Linked DNA regions of Homo sapiens: region 1 is linked to region 2. Evidence: promoter capture Hi-C in human tissues and cell types (Jung and others, 2019). All regions are on one chromosome and are shown on one strand. Each heading gives the region's core, a stretch centred on a gene start or on the middle of the fragment in contact. The rest is flanking DNA. Distances are from core to core; before and after follow the strand shown. Region 1 overlaps RFX2 (regulatory factor X2). Region 2 holds the start of FUT6 (fucosyltransferase 6).

Region 1 (4,666 bases), core at 97-2,596, 170 kb after region 2:
CCTGTCCCCCTGAAATGTGTGTCGCTGCTCCTAAAATGACACACTGCCTGGAGCACAGGTTCACAGCTGTCTGCCAGGGGCCCAAATTGAACAACAGCAGTGAGCTCCAGAGTCCATGTCTGCAGACAACGAGGTACAGAAGGAATGCTCTGGAAACTCTCTCCTGGAACCTCCAACTCCTGGGAGTGGCTGTGTGGTCAGGAGTCAATGGGTTACGCAGAGCAGCTGGAATGGGTTTTTGAGCCACACACATACACGGGTGGCTCTGTGCAGAGGGTCCAGCACCAGGTGTAAAGGTGCCACGTGGGGCTATTGCAATGTGGCCCCTGCCCTCAGGGGGGGCACTTGTGGAGGCACACTGGGAGGCAGTGATATTTGAATGGGCCCTAAACCAGGGGCCAGCAAACTATGGCCTGAGGGCCAATTCTGCTGTTTGTTTTTATAAATAAAGTTTTACTGGCACACAGCCATGCCCATCATCCTCATGCTGTCTGTGGCTGCTTTCAGGATGTAGCCAAATTGAACAGTCATGACAGAGACTGTCTGGCCTGCAAGGCTAAGATATTTGCTCTCTGGCTCTTTACAGGAAAGGTTTGCTGGCTCCTGCCTTAGAAGATGAGAAAGTTTGTGATGGATGGAGAAGAGGATCTTCCAGAAAATAACCAGGGCTTTCCAGCCACTGGATCCAAAGGTGAAGAAGAAGTCGTGACTTGAGCACATCTGCTTCTTTCTCCTGGCTTCTTGGGTTATTTGCAGTGTCCTCTCTCTCTTTACTTCCTAAGCTTTAAAAATTAAAGGTCTGTGATTCCAACTATATGACACTGGGGAACGGGGAAACTGTGGGGATGGCAGAAGGATTAGAGGTTGCTGCAGACTGGGGTGGGGAGGGAAAGCTGGGTAGGCAGAACATGGAGGATGTGTAGGACTGTGAAAGGACTCTGCGTGACACTGTGATGGGGGACACATGTCATTATAGGTTTGTCCAAACTGTCGAATGTACAACACCAAGAGTGAGCCCTGATGTTGACTGTGGACTCTGGGGGGTGATGCTGGCTCCGCGGAGGGTCACGGGTCATGAGCAATGCACCGCTGTGTGGGGGAGGTGAATGGTGGGAGAGGCGGTGGGGAGCGGGGCTGGGGGTGTAGAACAACTCTCTGTACTTTCTACTCAATTTTGCTGTGAACCTAGAATGGCTCTAAAAAATGAAGTCTGTTAAAAACAGTTTTAAACGGTTTTAAAAAAAGTCTGAAAAGTTAGCTGGAGGAGGTTGCATCCCAGCCTCCTGTGTCTCCTGCTAGACTCACCTCAGTCTCAGCAGAGGGGGATACCTTGGCTTTCCCAGGATGCTGGAGACTGGGGAGTTATGATGAGTTTGTTTCGTGTTGGAGAAACACCCACCCCTCCATGCTCCAGGGGAGAGCCAGCTCCTCCCAGCTCGGCCCGGCACCCACCTGGGCTTCTGGTGCATGGGCTGCTGCCGCATGGCCATGTACTGCGTGTCCTCCTGCAGCCGGTTCAGTGGTGAGTCCGGCTTCAGACGAATCCCATAGTAATGGTACTTCGAGTTGCCCCTGGAAACCAAACATCCCAGGGTCAGCTCCCTTTGCAGATGTCCTGAACAACAAGACAGGTTGGGATTCTTTTTCTTTCTTTCTTCTTTTTTTTTTTTGAGACAGAATCTCATTCTGTCGCCCAGGCTGGAGTACAGCAGTGCCATCTCGGCTCACTGCAATCTCCGCCTCCCGGGTTTAAGAGATTCTCCTGCCTCAGCCTCCCAAGTAGCTGGGATGACAGGCGTGAGCCATAATGCCTAGCTTATTTTTGTATTTTTAGTGGAGACGGGGTTTTGCCATGTTGGCCAGGCTGGTCTCAAACTCCTGGGCTCAAGTGATCCTCCTGCCTTGGCCTCCCAAAGTGCTGGGATTACAGGCGTGAGCCACTGCGCCTGGCCTCTTCTCTCTTTTTTTTTTTTTTCAGAAACAGGGTCTCACTCTGTCACCCAGGCTGGAGTGCAGTTGTGCAATCACAGCTCACTATCAGGAGGTCACTACCAGGAGGTCACTATCACTTGACCTCCTGGGATCAAGTGATCCTCCTGCCTCAGCCTCTGAGTAGCTGGGACAGCTGGCGTGTGCCAACACACTCGGATGGTAGAAGTGATCCTCCTGCTGCAGCCTCTGAGTAGCTGACGTGTGCCACCACACTCGGATCTTGACCTTTCACTTTGGCCTCTCTGGTTCAGCATTTCCTGAACTGTGTGAGGAATGTGATCAAGGAATTCTGTACATAATGCCGTTGTCATAGAGAGTCCTCTCTCACAGGCTAGTATAATAAAGGCTCGGACAAGTCCTGTGCTGAGAACACCAGGTCAGCTTTGTTGAGCTCCACATGGCTTATCTCCATTATTATTACCATTATTATTAACAACTCTTCCCCACCCCCTTCAATCATCTAGTAACACGTTTTGGAATAAGGCACTGTTTGGGAACCATTACATTAGTTTATTACGGGAGAATGATGATCAGAGGGCTTTAAACAATTTAGTTCAGAAAACAGCTCACAGAGTCCTTACAGGAGGGAAGCATTAACCCACAGACATGGCTGTGGAGACACCCAGCTCACAGGATGCCATTTCTCCAGAGCTGGCAACAGGGACATGCAGGAAGCACCTGGGTCCTTTCTTTTTCTTTCTTTCTTTTTCTCTTATTATTATATTTTTGAGACAGTCTCACTCTGTTGCCCAGGCTGGAGTGCAGTAGTGCGATCTCGGCTCACTGCAACCTCCCTCTCTCCCAGGTTCAAGAAATTCTCCAGCCTCAGCCTCCCCGATTAGCTGGGATTACAGGTATGTGACACCATGCCTGGCTAATTTTTTTGTATTTTTAGTAGGGACGGGGATTCACCATGTTGGCCAGGCTGATTTTGAACTCCTGACCTCAAGTGATCCTCCTGCCTTGGCCTCCCAATGTGCTAGGATTACAGGCGTGAGCAACCATGCCCGGCCCTTCTTTTCCTTTTTAAATTTCATTGCAATAGCAGACAGCCTGGGCCCTTTCTAGATGAGGTACATGTTTAGCCAGGTGCTCGGAGGAGGGAAAACGGGGGGAAATCAGCCTTAATCCTGAAGCCAGCAGCTGGGATACTCTGCAGGGGAGGCCCCTCCAGGAGCAGGGGCTGTGTCCCCAGAGACCAGGCTTCCCTGTGGCTTCCTCCCGCTTCTGTCCCTCCTCTACGCATCCACATTCCCTAAGGACATTCCCTGTGAAGGATGAAAAAGTGTCAGAGAATAAGGGACTCTGGTCCTCGTGGATCCACCGCCACGCCGTTTATAGACAGCCAGGACACCGGCTTTGAGAGCACGTGAGTCAGCCCCAACCCCACAAAAGCAGATGCCAAGCCTCGCTGGCCACAGGATCACAGCCTCAGCAGGCAGCAGCCTACTGCACTCTCTGGGCCACCAGCTTTGGGTTGGAGGTGCTGCTGTTTCTTTCTGTTAGAGGAGAGTTGGCATAATTGCCTGTGATAAGTCTGTGGCCTGTGATGTCCCGGGGCTGCCATAGGCCAAGAGAAGGCGGGGTGGATTGGTCCAGGTACAGCAAAAGACACCAAGAGGCCGGGCACAGTGACTCACACCTGTAATCCCAGAACTTTGGGAGGCTGAGGCAGGCAGATCACTTGAGGCCAAGAGTTTGAGACCAGCCTGGCCACCATGTCGAAACCCTGTCTCTACTAAAAATATAAAAATTAGCCAGGCGTGCTGGTGGGGGCCCGTAAATCCCAGCTACTTGGGAGGCTGAGGCAGGAGAATTGGTTGAACCCAGGAGGTGGAGGCTGCAGTGAGCCGAGATGACGCCACTGCACTCCAGCCTGGGTGACAGAGCAAGGCTGTGTCTCAAAAACAAAACACTGAGAAATGGTAAATCCAGCTCTGCTGGATAAACCAGAGGCTACATTTTGTTTGTTTGTTTGTTTGACACAGGGTCTTGCTCTGTCACCCAGGCTGGAGTGCAGTGGTGCAATCGTGGCTCACCGCAGCCTCAACCTCCTGGGCTCAAGTGCTCCTCCCCTCTCAGTCTCCCAAATAGGTGAAATTACAGGTGTGCAAATACGTGTGCACCACTATGCCTGGCTAATTTTTAATTTTTTTGTAGAGATGAGGTCTTGCTATGTTGCCCAGGCTGGTCTTGAACTCCTAGTCTCAAGTGATCCTCTTGCCTCGGCCTCCCAAACTGTTGGGATTTCAGGTGTGCACCACCACACCTGGCCCAGAGGCTGCTCTAAAACAAAAAAAGAAAAGTATTGTTTGGGAAATTTCAAAAGGAGAGAGAAAACCAGAGTGATCCCCACGTCCTATCACCGGCTTCTAAAGCCGACACCGTGGGCTACACCTGGCCACAGCCAAGGCTGCCGCCAATTGAAAGTAACTGCAAGCACTCCAGAGGTGGCTGCGAATCAGGCCACCTGGAAAGGAGGAGGAAGCCTCGCATTTTCCCAAAAGCTCCATTTCTTGGGAAAGGAAGAGGAAGAACAGGTGGGCTGGGGATCGTCTACCCACCTGGTGCCCAGCCGCCGCGTTCTCAGCCCCATAAACACAGAACGGATCAGTTTCCCGAAGGAGGCGGCGTTCACTGGGTCTAGCTTGTGCTCCTGGCAGTGCCGAAGGTA
Region 2 (4,714 bases), core at 15-2,514:
TCCTCAGCCCACCTCGGTGCATCCAGAAAGACCCCTGCCTGCGACTAGGGGCTGCTGGCCAAATGCCAGGCCACTGCACAGCCTGCAGACCCTCCCCCAGGGATCTTGTGCCAGCCCACCCGCACTCTGAATTACAGCAGACAGGACTGAGGCTGAGGGGAGGAGGCTCGGAGCCAGGAGGCCTTTCCCTGGACCCATGCGATCCGGGTTGGGGGTGAAAGTGGGACAAGAGGCCTTACCTGGGGGGGCCAGTGTGCAGAGGGCCCTAGAGCTGAGAGGCCGCGGACGGAGTAACAGCTGGATTCTGAGGACGTGGAAGAGGCCACACCACGCAGCAGAAGGAAGGAGGAAGTGTACCCGGAGCTGAAACCAGGCCCTTTCCAACCACCACACCTGTCATCAGGTGACCCAGGGCATCCTGTCCTGGAGCCCGGACATCCTTTGAAAACAAATCGTGGGGCTCCCCTAATCCCCGTTGCAGAACCAAACAGGGTGAAGGGATTTGGAGACTCAGGTCATGCATGACCTTGCCCCACCTGTGGCTTCAATGCGATGTGGCTTTGAGTACAAAGTGAAAAGGCTGACCTGAACCACCGGTTCCCAAAGCGGGTTCCACAGGGACACCAGGGGTTCCTTGGGAGGTGGGAATGAGGAAGTGAGCAGAATTTCTACCTTTCCGCTTTCCTTCCCACCAGATCCCACCTTCTCACTCAGTTGGCCCATCACCAAATATTTCCTGAGCACTAAGTGCCAGGCCAAGGGATCTTGCAGGAAACCGGTGGGCAAGTCAGGCAACTCATGAACCTTGGAAGGGAACTTTCTTCAATTAAAATTGCAGCCTTTTGAATAAAAAAGGGATGGAAGGGCATTCCAGTTACAAGGAACAACCTTCGCAAAGGCCCTGAGGCAGCAGAAATGCAGGCATGTTGAGGAACTGCAGGAGGAGTCTCAGCAGGCTGGGTCTTCACCACTGGAGAGGAGGCAGAGCTGTTGCAGAGGCTGGGCCACGGTCAGCCATAGGGTGTTCAGCACCAAGGCAATAGGGAGCCATGTGAGGCTTCAAGCAGAGGGGTTACCATGTCGATACATGTTTTCAGATGCTCTCTTCTGGTAGGCTGGGCACAGGTCCCATATTGGTGGCAGAAGCTTCCTCCGGTGGCCTCAACAAGCCCCTCTGTGTGCCTCAAAGCCACTTCCTTTCCCCACCCACTCCTGCAGGGCAGTGCAAAGCAGAAGTCCAGGGAGCTATGCAAACTTCCTGGAATGGAGAGAAATGATCTGGAATACTGGTTTTGAGGGAGGATGACCTTAAACTCTCTCACTCCCAAGCTGGGTGCAAAGGTGACCGAGCTCAAAGCCCAGCCTCCAAGTATCACGACTGCCCTGTTCTAGAAATCATTTCTGGGAGGCTGCATCATGCTGCCTGAGTTCTACTATCTCAGTGCCCAGCCACGCCCAGACCAGTGAGGTTCTGGGAGGTAGGGATGGGCCAGGGGGTTGGGGTCTCCCAGAGCTCCAGAAGTGGCAACCTAATTCCACTCATGTCTCATTCCTTGACTGGTGAGGTTGACTGTAACTTATTAAAAAAATGACTTCTGGGGGCCGGGCGTGGTGGCTCACGCCTGTAATCCCAACACTTTGGGAGGCCGAGGTGGGCAGATCACGAGATCAGAAGATCAAGACCATCCATCCTGACTAACATGGTGAAACCCTGTCTCTACTAAAAATACAAAAAAATTAGCCAGGCGTGGTAGTGGGTGCCTGTAGTCCCAGCTACTTGGGAGGCTGAGGCAGGAGAATGGTGTGAACCCGGGAGGCGGAGCTTGCAGTGAGCCTAGATTGAGCCACTGCACTCCAGCCTGGGCGACAGTGCAAGACTCTGTCTCAAAAAAAAAAAAAAAAAAAAAAAAGACTTCTGAGGCCATGCACAGTGACTCACACCTGTAATCCCAACAGTTTGGGAAGGAGAGGCAGGAAGATCGCTTGAGCCCAGGAGTCTGAGACCAGCCTAGGGAAAACAGAGATACCCCTATCTCTCTCTTTTTTTTGAGATGGAATCTTGCTCTGTCACTCGGGCTGGAGTGCAGTGGCACAGTCTCAGTTTACTGTAACCTATGCCTCCCGGGCTCAAGCGATTCTCATGCCCCAGCCTCCCGAGTAGCTGGGACTACAGGCGCGTGACACGGCACTGGGTAACTTTCGTATTTTTTTAATAGAGCTGGTTTTCGCCATGTTAGCCAGGCTGATCTTGACCTCCTGACTTCAGGTGATCTGTCTGCCTCAGCCTCCTAAAGTACTGGGATTAGAGGCCAGGCATGAGCCACTCCGCCCAGCTGGGTTTTTTTTCTTTTTTTTTTTTGAGACAGAGTCTCGCTCTGTGGCCCAGGCTGGAGTGCAGTGGCACGATCTCGGCTCATGGCAAGCTCTGCCTCCTGGGTTCACGCCATTCTCCTGCCCCAAGTAGCTGGGACTACAGGCGTCCGCCATCACGCCCAGCTAATTTTTTTTTTTTTTTTTGTATTTTTAGTAGAGACATGTTAGCCAGGATGGTCTCGATCTCCTGACCTTGTGATCCGCCCGCCTCGGCCTCCCAAAGTGCTGGGATTACAGGCGTGAGCCACCACGCCCCGCCCCCAGCTGGGTTGTTTCTTAAGGATTCAAAATCCAAAGGTAGGTCTCTAGTGAGGGACAGTAGGGCTCTAGTCATTCCATCGATGTGATCGCTGGGCAAAGGGAGGGTGGAGGACCTTGGGCTGACCTCAGGGATGGTGCCAGAGAGAACGTGTGCTCATCCTGAAACTGCTGTGTGACTTGAGAGGTTTCCTGGTCCTCTCTGAGCAGGGCTCACCATACCAGTGCCAGGTGGGACCTCCCTGCCAAGGAGCTGAGCCCAGAGCCCAGAGTAGGGTATCATGAGGACCTCTTCCCTCAGGCTCAGGGCAAGCTAGGACCTGCTTGAGGCTTGCAGGGGCAGTTAGGCCATCTGTGCACCTCGTTGGGGTCTTGGCCCTCATTGGACCCTCCAGTGCCTTCCCTGGCCAGGGCTGGGTGGGAGATGGAGCTGCCAGCCTGCTGGAAATTTTTCTCCCCCTGGGGCCCAGGGCTGGGAGCCAAGGGCAGCTGGTGCCCAGGAGGAGGGAGAAGGCCCCACGGGCTGGGCGTGCCATGAACCACATGTGAGATCCGGGGCATACAGGGAGGCAATGGGGGTTTGAGGGCAGTGCTGGGGTTCCAGAGGGGGCAGGCCAGAGCCCCCCAACATCGGCCAGGTGGCTGGGCCTCTGCCCTCGTGGGACCCAGGGAGGGTTTCCATGTCCCTCTAAGCCTCAGAGGAAATTCCAGAGGCAGAGAAAGAGAAGTTGGGAAAGGGAGCTCTTCACTCTGACATCAGCTGAGGTAGAGGCGGAGACCACAGGGGCTCCAGGGGCGTCAGAGGACAGAGCAGCCTGTCCCCACACCTCTTACCCCCTGGGGACTGGGCCTGCCCCAGCCTGTTAGGAAGCCCTGGCCTGGCCTGCCGAGGGCCCCGTCCCCCTCCCAGGACCCGTGGCTTGCAGCCAGGTGGTGGGGAGAGGGGCCCAGGTGTGTGGTGTGGGTGGCAGGTGAGTGATGGGCCCAGCAAGGCTGGCTCAGGCCCGGGGTCACCAGAGGGTTTGGTAGAGACTCTTCAGGCCCCCCACACCCTCCCCACCCTATGCCCCTCCACCCTCCCACCTGGGCCTCAGGGAGGCATCACAGGCACCTCTGCACCTCCACTGTACAGATGGGGAAACTGAGGCTCAGAGAGCACCTGGGATTCACCACCACCACCCACGTCTTGGTCTCCCCTGGCAATTTTATTTTACTTTATTTTATTTTATATATATATATTTTTTTTGAGACGGAGTCTTGCTCTGTCACCCAGGCTAGAATGCAGTGGTGCAATCTTGGCTCACTGCAACCTCCACCTCCTGGGTTCAAGTGATTCTCGTACCTCAGCCTCCCAAGTAGCTGGGATTACAGGCGCATGTCACCACGCCAGGCTAATTTTTGTATTTTTAGTAGAGACGGGGTTTCACCATGTTGGCCAGGCTGGTCTCCAACTCCTGACCTCAGGTGATCTGCCCGCCTCCACCTCCTAAAGTGCTGAGATTACAGGCGTGACCCATTGCACCTGGCCTATTATTATTGTTATTTTTGAGATGGAGTCTCACTGTGTCGCCCAAACCGGAGTGCAGTGGCGCCATCTCAGCTCACTGCAAGCTCCACCTCCTGGGTTCACGCCATCCTCCTGCCTCAGCCTCTGGAGCAGCTGGGACCACAGGCACCCGCCATGACACCTGGCTAATTTTTTGTATTTTTAGTAGAGACGGGGTTTCACCGTGTTAGCCAGGATGGTCTCGATCTCCTGACCTCGTGATCCACCCTCCTCGGCCTCCCAAAGTGCTGAGATTACAGGCGTGAGCCACCGTGCCTGGCCGGCCTATTATTTTTTATTTAGAGACGTGGTCTTGCTATATTGACCAGGCTGGTCTTTAACTCTTGGCCTCAATCAATCCTCCTACCTCAGCCTCCCAAAGTGCTGGGATTACAGGCGTGAGCCACAGCGCCTGTCCACCCTTGGCATTTTGTAGACAGCAGCAATTTCCCTCAACCCCAGAATATTTGGAATGTTCCAGAAGTCCTCATTTACAGTCGATCCCACCTGTACCCTATAAGTGGTGGTCCTGGGCTT

What was found. Contacts are between HindIII fragments. The study calls those that stand out against the background at their distance.
Region 1: a contact is called between a fragment that was not itself captured here and the fragment with the promoter of FUT6 in region 2, in 1 of the 25 tissues and cell types used here (pancreas).

What each region holds. Positions count from the first base shown.
Region 1 is chr19:6,011,534-6,016,199 of GRCh38, forward strand. It overlaps RFX2 (regulatory factor X2), which reads right to left. Exons shown (of 18, transcript NM_000635.4): 7 at 4,557-4,666; 8 at 1,453-1,572. RANBP3-DT (RANBP3 divergent transcript) reads left to right here. Exons shown (of 4, transcript NR_046376.1): 2 at 587-691. Among named protein-coding and RNA genes, the nearest start is that of RANBP3-DT, 35 kb to the left of the region's middle. RefSeq lists an enhancer at 3,477-3,976. The HindIII fragment of the contact is 6,319 bases long and covers 1-4,506 here.
Region 2 is chr19:5,838,438-5,843,151 of GRCh38, forward strand. It overlaps FUT6 (fucosyltransferase 6), which reads right to left and starts at 1,265. Exons shown (of 3, transcript NM_000150.4): 1 at 240-1,265. FUT3 (fucosyltransferase 3 (Lewis blood group)) reads right to left here. Exons shown (of 3, transcript NM_001382750.2): 3 at 4,451-4,714. The HindIII fragment of the contact is 16,612 bases long and covers 1-4,714 here.